Linked DNA regions of Homo sapiens: region 1 is linked to region 2. Evidence: promoter capture Hi-C in human tissues and cell types (Jung and others, 2019). All regions are on one chromosome and are shown on one strand. The core of a region is centred on a gene start or on the middle of the fragment in contact, and the rest is flanking DNA. Distances in the headings are between cores, read along the strand shown.

Evidence for each region. Contacts are between HindIII fragments. The study calls those that stand out against the background at their distance.
Region 1: the fragment with the promoter of MYO1F here is called in contact with the fragment with the promoter of PEX11G in region 2 in 1 of the 25 tissues and cell types used here (bladder).

The regions. Positions count from the first base shown.
Region 1 is chr19:8,575,288-8,579,896 of GRCh38, reverse strand. It overlaps MYO1F (myosin IF), which reads left to right and starts at 2,455. Exons shown (of 28, transcript NM_012335.4): 1 at 2,455-2,590. The coding sequence starts at 2,588. RefSeq lists silencers at 929-1,123, 2,344-2,493, 3,031-3,080 and enhancers at 3,201-3,380, 3,551-3,610, 3,951-4,010. The HindIII fragment of the contact is 34,715 bases long and covers 1-4,609 here.
Region 2 is chr19:7,485,800-7,490,294 of GRCh38, reverse strand. PEX11G (peroxisomal biogenesis factor 11 gamma) reads left to right here and starts at 1,260. Exons shown (of 5, transcript NM_080662.4): 1 at 1,260-1,344; 2 at 4,269-4,457. The coding sequence starts at 1,285. RefSeq lists silencers at 1,074-1,403, 1,454-1,513. The HindIII fragment of the contact is 14,364 bases long and covers 1-1,464 here.

The DNA.
Region 1 (4,609 bases), core at 1,206-3,705, 1.1 Mb before region 2:
AAGCTCCGCCTCCTGGGTTCATGCCATTCTCGCCTCAGCCTCCCGAGTAGCTGGCACTACAGGCGCCCGCCAACATGCCCAGCTAATTTTTTGTACTTTTTTAGTAGAGACGGGGTTTCACCGTGTTAGCCAGGATGGTCTCGATCTCCTGACCTCGTGATCTGCCCGCCTCGGCCTCCCAGAGTGCTGGGATTACAGGCATGGGCCACCGTGCCCAGCCAGAAGGGGACTTTTAACATTGCAGACAGGAACCCAGGGATTTTAGGAGAAAAGTACAACAGCTTCTCGTGGAAGGGTTTTGCTTTTTTGTTTTTGTTTTTTGAGACAGGGTCTCACTCTGTAGCCCAGGCTGGAGTTCAGTGGCACGATCTCAGCTCACTGCAGCCTTGAACTCCTGGGCTTAAACGATTCTCCTGCCTACCCTGCCAAGTAACTGAGATTATAGGTGCAACAGCACACCTAGCTGATTTTTTAATTTTTTGTAGAGACGAGGTCTTGCTATGTTGCCCAAGCTGGTCTGGAACTCCTGGGCTCAAGCGATCCTCCCACCTCAGCCTCCCAAAGTTCTGGGATTACAGGCATCAGCCACCATGCCTGGCCCTCACAGAGGCTCTTAAAGCCACACGGTCTAGCACCTGCCACCCTGGCCATCACACTCTCCGTCACTCCGCATGCTCCAGCCACACCAGCCTCCCCGAACTTCCTCAATTGCCCTATGGTTTTCCCATATCTGGGCCTTTGCTTGAGCGCTTAGCATGGCCAGGTGCACGCTCCTGCCCCTTTACCTTTTTTAACTCCAGCTTACTCGCCGGTGTCAGCACAAACGTTGCCTCTTCCTAGAAGCCTCCCCTGATGGCCCCCAACAAAGTGGGGTCCTCTTACCCATTCATATTCACTCTTGAGTGCCTGGAGACATTGCTGAGAATTGCATGCCCCAAGCCCGTCAATTCTGCAAACTCGCTCAGGAGATTCCAGCAGAGACGGGCTCCTTCCCAGCTGTGGCCACTAGGGGCGCTGCATATTAACATCTTCAAGGGGGATGCGGGTTTATCGCCCTGGACCAAAGATAGATCTGAACATGGGTCCCCCAGGGTCTCCCAGGGTCGGGTCCTGCCTCGGCCACCTCCTTGCTGGGTGGTGTGGGGAAGTAACAACCTATTAGAACTGCCATTTCCTCACATGTCAAGAGGAGCCTCAGGTGGTTGGCTGGTGTCCCAAAGACCAGCTCATAGGCTGACACGTACCTGGGCCAGGCTCTGCTGGGGGGACCCACGTTCCCATTTTACAATGAGAAAAGGGAGTAACTAAGTCATCCAGGAAGTAGCCAAACTGGAGGCTGTTAAATCTAGATGTGACATCCAAAGTCAGGGACCTTTCAGATGCACCTGCTTCCCAGTACCCTCCACTTCTGCACACAAACACGTGTGACTTCTGAGGGTCATCTAAAGAGGGAGGTTGGGCCAGGCGTGGTGGCTTATGCCTGTAATCCCAGCACTTTGGGAGGCCGAGTTGGGAGGATCACCTGAGGTCAGGAGTTCAAGGCCGGCCTGGCCAACATGGCGAAATTCCGTCTCTACTAAAAATACAAATATTAGCCAGGTGTGGCGGTGGGCACCTGTAATCCCAGCTACTCAGGAGGCTGAGGCAGGAGAATCGCTTGAACCCAGGAGGCGGAGATTAAAGTAAGCTGAGATTGCACCACTGCATTCTAGCCTGGGTGACAGAGCTAGACTCCGTCTCAAAATAATAACAATAATAATAATGAAGGAGGTTGCCCAGGGATGCCCAGAGCAGACACAGCTGAAGAAGGCACCCTTCCCTGTTGTTGTTGTTTTTTTGGTTTTTTTGTTTTTTCTGGTTTGTTTTTAGAGACAGGGTCTCACTCTTTCGCCCAGGCTGGAGTGCAGTGGCGCAATCAGGGCTCACTGAGGCCTCCACCTCCCAGGTTCAAGCAATCCTCCCACCTCAGCCCTCTGAGTAGCTGGGACTGCAGGCTCATGCCACCATGCCCAGCTAATTTTTTTTCTTTTCATTTTTTGTAGAGATGGGGTCATGCTATATAGCCCAGGCTGGTCTCAAACTCCTGGACTCAAGCGATCCTCCAACCTTGGCCCCCCAAAGTATTGGGATTACAGGCGTGAGCCACCTCCCCTGGGCCCCTTCCTTGGTTTTAAAAAGAGACCCGGGAAGCCCAAATGCTTCCTGAATCGCCCTGAAAAGAGGTGGTTCGTCCTGCAGCCAGCTGACCCAAATGTTCCTGCAGCAGCCCTGTCCCCAAGGAGTTGGGGAAGAGGCCTCTGAGGTCCAGTAGTGGCTGCCATCAAGTTCTGACCCCTCCCTTCAGGCTCAGAGCCCCAAACAGCCAGCTCCCCGCCCCCCTCCACACCCAGCTTCCCTCCCCCATGGCCTCGGCCCCTCCCGCCAAAGGAAGTGAGAAGGGGCTGTTGTAAGAGGAACTAAAGCCGGGAGTCCGGTGAACGGGCAGAAGCAGGGCCATGCCCAAGCCACCCCCAAGATCCCCCTGAACCTGCACCTCCATCACGACCCATTCAGGAGCCTCCAGGAGCCCAGACACCAGCCCCCCACCATGGTAAGTCCTTCAAGGGTGGGATCTGGAAGAAGAAAGAGGAGGGACACCAGCCAGGTGGAGGTGTCCTAAAAATGACCATCAGAAATTGGGGTGAGGGGAGGGGCATGGTGGACTTCTGTGGGGGTGGGGTGTCTCTCAGTGCAGCTCAGGTGCCTCCAGCATCCCTTACCAGGGAGCAAGCTCCCATCTGTAGGTGGTGGGGATGCCAGGGTGGTATCCCTGGATCCAAGGATAGGGCAGGACCTGGAAGACAGAAGGTGGCCCAGGGAGAATCACAGAGTCTGCAGGGACAAGGACATAGCCTCCTTTGCTTGCAAATTAAGGGAGCCCTTTCCCAGTCCAGCCCAGTCTCTCGTCTCCCTGTGTAGCCTTGGGCTAGTCACTTCCCCTCTCTTGGCCCCGGTTCCCACAGATGTCATATTTGGAAATCCGTCTAGATGCGGAAGTTGCTCTTCAGGGGTCTTTCAGTTGCAACATTCTCAAGGTCTGTGGGTTCTGCCACAGAGTCCTCGGCTGAGATGGGAAGCTATGTCTAACAAGCGATGGGGTGGATTGACGCCCTCCCTGTGCCGGTGACGGGCGGTATGGCTGCAGCAGAGGCAGGAGAGGCTGAATACGTCCATGCCACCCTTTGGTGGGCATCCCTTATCCCAAGAGGAGGATGGCAGCCAGAGGTGTTGCTGCCTGTCAAGTCTGAGGTCTGTCGATGATAGCAACGGGGAGACTGTCGTGATCATGGCGCTATTCCTAGCAGTATCGTACCACCATAAGACGCAAAGTAAGAGGTGGCCAGGGCTGACCCCACCCCACAGCTCTCTGCTGTGTAGACCACTTCAGCTTTCATTTCTCGTCATTCAGTCAGTGAGGATGAGAGCATGTGGCTGTGACAGCGGCCACTGCAGGATTCTTGGCAGGTACAGCTTACTAGGGTGGAGTCAGGGACATAGGGCAAGAGGCAGAGGTGGTGTTAGTCTGAGAGACAACACCTTCTTTCAGGAAGCCAGTGAGGGCCAGGGACAGTGGCTCATGCCTGTAATCCCAGCATTTTAGGAGGCTGAGACAGGTAGATCACTTGAGGTCAGGTGTTCGAGACCAGCCTGGCCAACGTGGTGAAACCTCGTCTCTACTAAAAAATACAAAAAATTAACTGGGCGTGGTGGCACACGCCTGTAATCCCAGCTACATATGAGGCTGAGGCAAGAGAATAACTTGAACCCAGGAGGCGGAGGGTGCAGTGAGCTGAGATCCTGCCGCTGCACTCCAGCCTGGGTGACAGAGCACACTCCGTCTCAAAAAAGGAAAGCTGATGAGAAATTGGGCATCCCGGAATTCACACCCAAACCATCAGCTGGAGCTCTGAGACTGTTGGGGTGGGAATTCTTCCAAGATGAGAAGCAAGCCAGGGAGGCTCAGGTCCTGGGATGGGCAGGGCTTTGATCAAAAGAACACAGGAAGTGATTTGCTACTTGAAAGAAAGGCAACCCCTCCCCAAGGAAGCCCTCTGAAAATGCTTAGTCAACAGTCGGCTTGGCAGACAAGGTCTGGGAGGGGCCACCCGTATCGCAGAGGATGATAGAAGAGAAAAAAATGACACCCACCTCTGTCTGGGGATGCTGAAATCTTCCTGGAGGAGTGGTGAATGCCAGGAAGATCGCTGAAGGATTCAATGAAACAGTATTTCTGAAGTCCTTTACAACAGGGTCCCCAACCCCCGGGGTCATGGACTGCTATCGGGCCATGGTCTGTCTGTTAGAAACCATGAGCCCTATCGGGTCACAGAGCAGGAGATGAGTGGCAGGCAAGCAAGCCCGAGCTCCACCTCCTCTCAGATTCTCGGGGGCGCCATTAGATTATCACAGGATCGCAAACCCTGTTGTGAACTGCACACACGAGGGATCCAGGTTGCATGCTGCTTATGACAATCTAATGCCCGGCCGGGTGCGGTGGCTCACACCTGTAATCCTAGCACTTTGGGAGGCCGAGGCGGGCAGATCACGAAGTCAAGAGATAGAAACGATC
Region 2 (4,495 bases), core at 11-2,510:
TACCTTATGTGTACATGGGAGATGCCAAGAGAAATGAGGTGGCTTATATAGCTTATATAACTCCTGCTTATATAGCACCTTCAACATATAGCAGCAAATTTTTGGAGAAGTGACAAGACGAAGGAAAAGGACATTGAGGCCGGGTGCGGTGGCTCACGCTTGTAATCCCAGCACTTTGGGAGGCCGAGGCGGGCGGATCACTTGAGGCCAGGAATTTGAGAACAGCCTGGCCAACGTGGTGAAACCCCGACTCTACCAAAAATACAAAAATTAGCCGGGCACAGTGGTGCACAGCTGTGATCCCAGCTACTTGGGAAGCTGAGGCACGAGAATCGCTTGAACCAGGGAAGCGGAGGACGCAGTGAGCAGAGATGGCGCTACTGCACTCTAGCTTTGGGGACAGAGCAAGACTCCGTCTCAAAAAAAAAGAAAAAAAAAAAAAAGACGTCTCCAGACAAGAGTCTAAAGGTGTCCCTGGTGATCAACCTTTGTCCTTCCTGGTAGAGAGGGGAGGAGGGCACCTTTGTACCTTTAGGTCCTGCTTTGAGGCAAATCAGGGAAGAACAGAGAGCTTTTCCGGTATCAGCTTCATTGATCTCAGCTCAAAATAATCCTACACCAAGGTCGCATATTTCAGAGGGGCATATGCTGGTCTCCTACGGGGGTCTCTCTTGGGGGTGATAAAAATACCCCGAAACTAGCAAGGGGTGATGGTTGTCCAACATGTGCATGTACTAATGTCACTGAATTGTGCATTTTTATTTTTTATTTATGTATTCTAGAACAATTCTTAACGTCCAAAGATAACGTCTTTCCTTAACGTCGAAAGATGCCTTGTTGTGATATTACAGCAGTCATTCCTGCTCACTACGGGCAGGCAGACAGTGCAGAAAAGGTGAAGCACAAAAACTAAAAAGGAAAATCTCTCCTTGAACCACTGCGAACAGGTTGGTGGTTTTGCTTGGAATATTTTTGGAGCGTGTGGGTAGTTGGTTAAACTTAGAAATATATTTTTTTGTGCGTGGGTAGTTGGCCAAACCGCCGTGGGGCAGAATGCAGCAAACTCCGAGGATGATCCAGGGTCTGCAGGCCTGGAGAGCACACACGTGTCGGCCCCACCTCTGCAAACTCTGTCCCTCCCCTACAGCGGACAAAAAGCCGGTCAGGGGGACAAAGGCCTGCGGCCGCGCCTGCGCGCAAGCCTTTGGGGCGCTCCCGGTACCCCGGCCTGGCCCCGCCCCCTGGCGCGGCGCGCCGACGTCGCGGTGACGTCACGGAGTTGCCATGGCGTCGCTGAGCGGCCTGGCGTCGGCGCTGGAGTCGTACAGGGGCCGGGACCGCCTGGTGAGGCAGGGGCGGACCGGGGCCGGAGGTCCTAGAGTTTGGCCCAAGCTCAGAGACTGGGAAACGGGCCAGAGAGGGGACGGGGTCGCCCAGGATACTCCGTCGCAGAGGCCCCGTCCGAGCTAGGCTCAAATGCGGTGCCCTAGCATTGGACATTTATGTATTTATTTATTTTGGCTGGAGTGCAGTGGTGCGATCTCTGCTCACTGCAGCCTCCGCTTCCCGGGTTCAAGCGATTCTCCTGCCTCAGCACTCCCGAGTAGCTGGGACTACAGGCGCCCGCCACCACTCCCTGCTATTTTTTTGTATTTTTAGTAGAGACGGAGTTTCATCGTGTTAGCCAGGATGGTCTCGATCTCCTGGCCTCAAGCGATCCACCTGCCTCGGCCTCCCAAAGTGCTGGGATTACAGGCGTGAGCCACCGCGTCTGGCCAGCGTTGGACATTTAGATAGTTTCTGCCAACCCAACCTGTCTGGACATTGACACACTGGCCAGATTCCCGTGTTTGGACGTTTTGGATCCGACCAGGCCACTGAAGTTGTCCTGAACAATCTCGTGTTGGGATTTGGGATGTTGCAGGGCTCCCCTGTGGCTGGACATTCACTTCCAACCAGATTCCCTATAGTTGGGCATTTAGGTTGTTTCAGCCAACCTAGACCAAAGAACACGCCATGGCCTGGGCCCTGCCATGCCTAAGCAGCGATGGGTTCCAACAAAACCCCAGTTGGTCATTTAGATCGTCTCTGCCAACCCAGCCTGGCTGGACGTTTACATACCAAACAGATTCCCATGTTTGGACATTTAGGATCTGACCGGGCCACTGTAGTTGGTCCCTGGGTTGTCCCAAACAATCTCATGTGGGGATTTAGGATATTGCAAGACTCTCCCTATGGCTGGACAGTTTTTAGTTCCAATCAAGTCCCATATGGTTGAACATTTAGGTTATGCCATCCATGCCCCTGAGTCTGGACTCTTAGCTTGTCCCCACCAGTCTCTTATAGGTAGACATTCAGGTTGTACCAGGCGGTGTACTGGTGGCTAGGCATTTAGATTCCATTCAAATATCTTATGATTGGGGGGGTGGGTTAACAAATCTCCCCCGAGTTGAACATTCAGATTGCAGTGTTTTGCCATTATAATGGGGCTGGAAAGGAATTACAAGTAAAAATAAATAAAACAACAGGAACAAGCAATTTCTGAAAAGCAGGTAAAATAAAGATATAAGGGAGGCCAGGCGTGGTGGCTCGCGCCTGTGATCCTAGCACTTTGGGAGGCTGAGCTGGGTGGATTGTCTGAGCTCAGGAGTTTGAGACCAGCCTGGGAAAAGTGATGAAACCTCGTCTCTACTAAAATACAAAAATTAGCCGGATGTGGTGGTGCGTGCCTGTAGTCCCAGCTACTTGGAAGGCTGAGGCGGGAGAATTGCTTGAACCTGGGATGCAGAGGTTGCAGTGAGCTCACACCTTTGCACTCGAGCCTGGGGAGCAGAGCAAGACTCTGTCTCCAAAAGAAAAAAGATCTGAGTAGTGAAGATGACCTATTTCAGAAGGCTCCACATCACCTACTGAGTAGGTTCTTTCTCTCTAAAGTAATTCTACCAAATTATCCTGTTGTTCACTGGGTTGAGGCCTGATCACCTGTGCCCACCATTCAGCACATCCAAAGGCTTTGGTCCAGGCAGGTAGATGTAAATATACACTTTAGCTGTGGCTTCCTGCCACCTGGGAAAAGAAGGACCTAGGAGGTGGGAAGTAAGGAGCTTTGTTTTCTTTGTTCCTGTCACATCTGTTCCCAAAGGCTGTGCCCTTCAGTTACATCAATGATGTCATGTTTCTTCATTTGTCCCACCTCCAAGTATGTTTTTAAACTTCCAGCTTTTTTTTTCTTTTTCTTTTTCTTTTTTTAGACAGGGTCTCGCCCTGTTGCCCAGGCTGGAGTGTAGTAGCACGATTACAGCTCACTACAGTCTGGAACTCCTGGGCTCAAGTGATCCTCCAGCATCAGCCTCCCAAGTAACCACCATGCCCTGTTAACTTAAAAAAATTTTTGGTAGCCAGGCGCGGTGGCTTACGCCTGTAATCCCAGCACTTTGGGAGGCCGAGGCGGGTGGATCATGAGGTCAGGAGATCAAGACCATCCTGGCTAAAATGGTGAAACCCCATCTCTACTAAAAATACAAAAAATTAGGTGGGCTTGGTGGCGGGTGCCTGTAGTCCCAGCTACTCGGGAGGCTGAGGCAGGAGAATCGCATGAACCCGGGAGGTGGAGCTTGCAGTGAGCCGAGATCGCGCCACCGCACTCCAGCCTAGGTGACGGAGCAAGACTCCGTCTCAAAAAAAAAAATTTTTTTGGTAGACACAGGGTCTTGCTATGTTGCCCAGGCTGGTCTCAAACTCCTGGTGTGAAGGCATCCTCTCACCTCGGTTTCTCAAAGTGCTGGGGTTACAGGTGTGAGCCACTGTGCCCCACCTAAACTTTCAGCTTTTACTGTCACTTTGTAGATTTAGAATCTTCCAAACTCTTGGGTCAGGCACGGTGGCTCATGCCTGTAATCCCAGCACTTTGGGAGGCTAAGGCAGGTGGATCACTGAGGTTATGAGTTTGAGACCAGCCTAGCCAACCTGGTGAAACCCTGTCTCTACAAAAAATATAAAAATTAGCAGGGTGTGGTGGTGGGCGCCTGTAATCCCAGCTACTGGGGAGGCTGAGGCACAAGAATTGCTTGAACATGGGAGATGGAGGCTGCGGTGAGCCGAGATCGTGCCACTGCACTCCAGTCTGGATGACAGAGTGAGACTCTTTCAAAAAAAAAAGAGAATCTTCCACACTCTCAATCCAGCGGGGCCCGGGGCCAGGTATGGGGGGATGCAGCTCAGTTCTGCAGAACAGGAGGGCCACACTGACTGCTTCTGGTTTCCCACAGATCCGAGTGCTGGGGTACTGCTGCCAGCTGGTTGGTGGAGTTCTGGTTGAACAGTGTCCCGCCAGGTCCGAAGTGGGGACACGTCTGTTGGTGGTGTCCACCCAACTCAGCCACTGCAGGACCATCTTGCGACTCTTTGATGACCTGGCCATGTTTGTCTACACTAAGCAATATGGCCTGGGGGCACAGGTAACAGGGTTTGTGGGGCTCTAGGGAGTAGGGTGCGG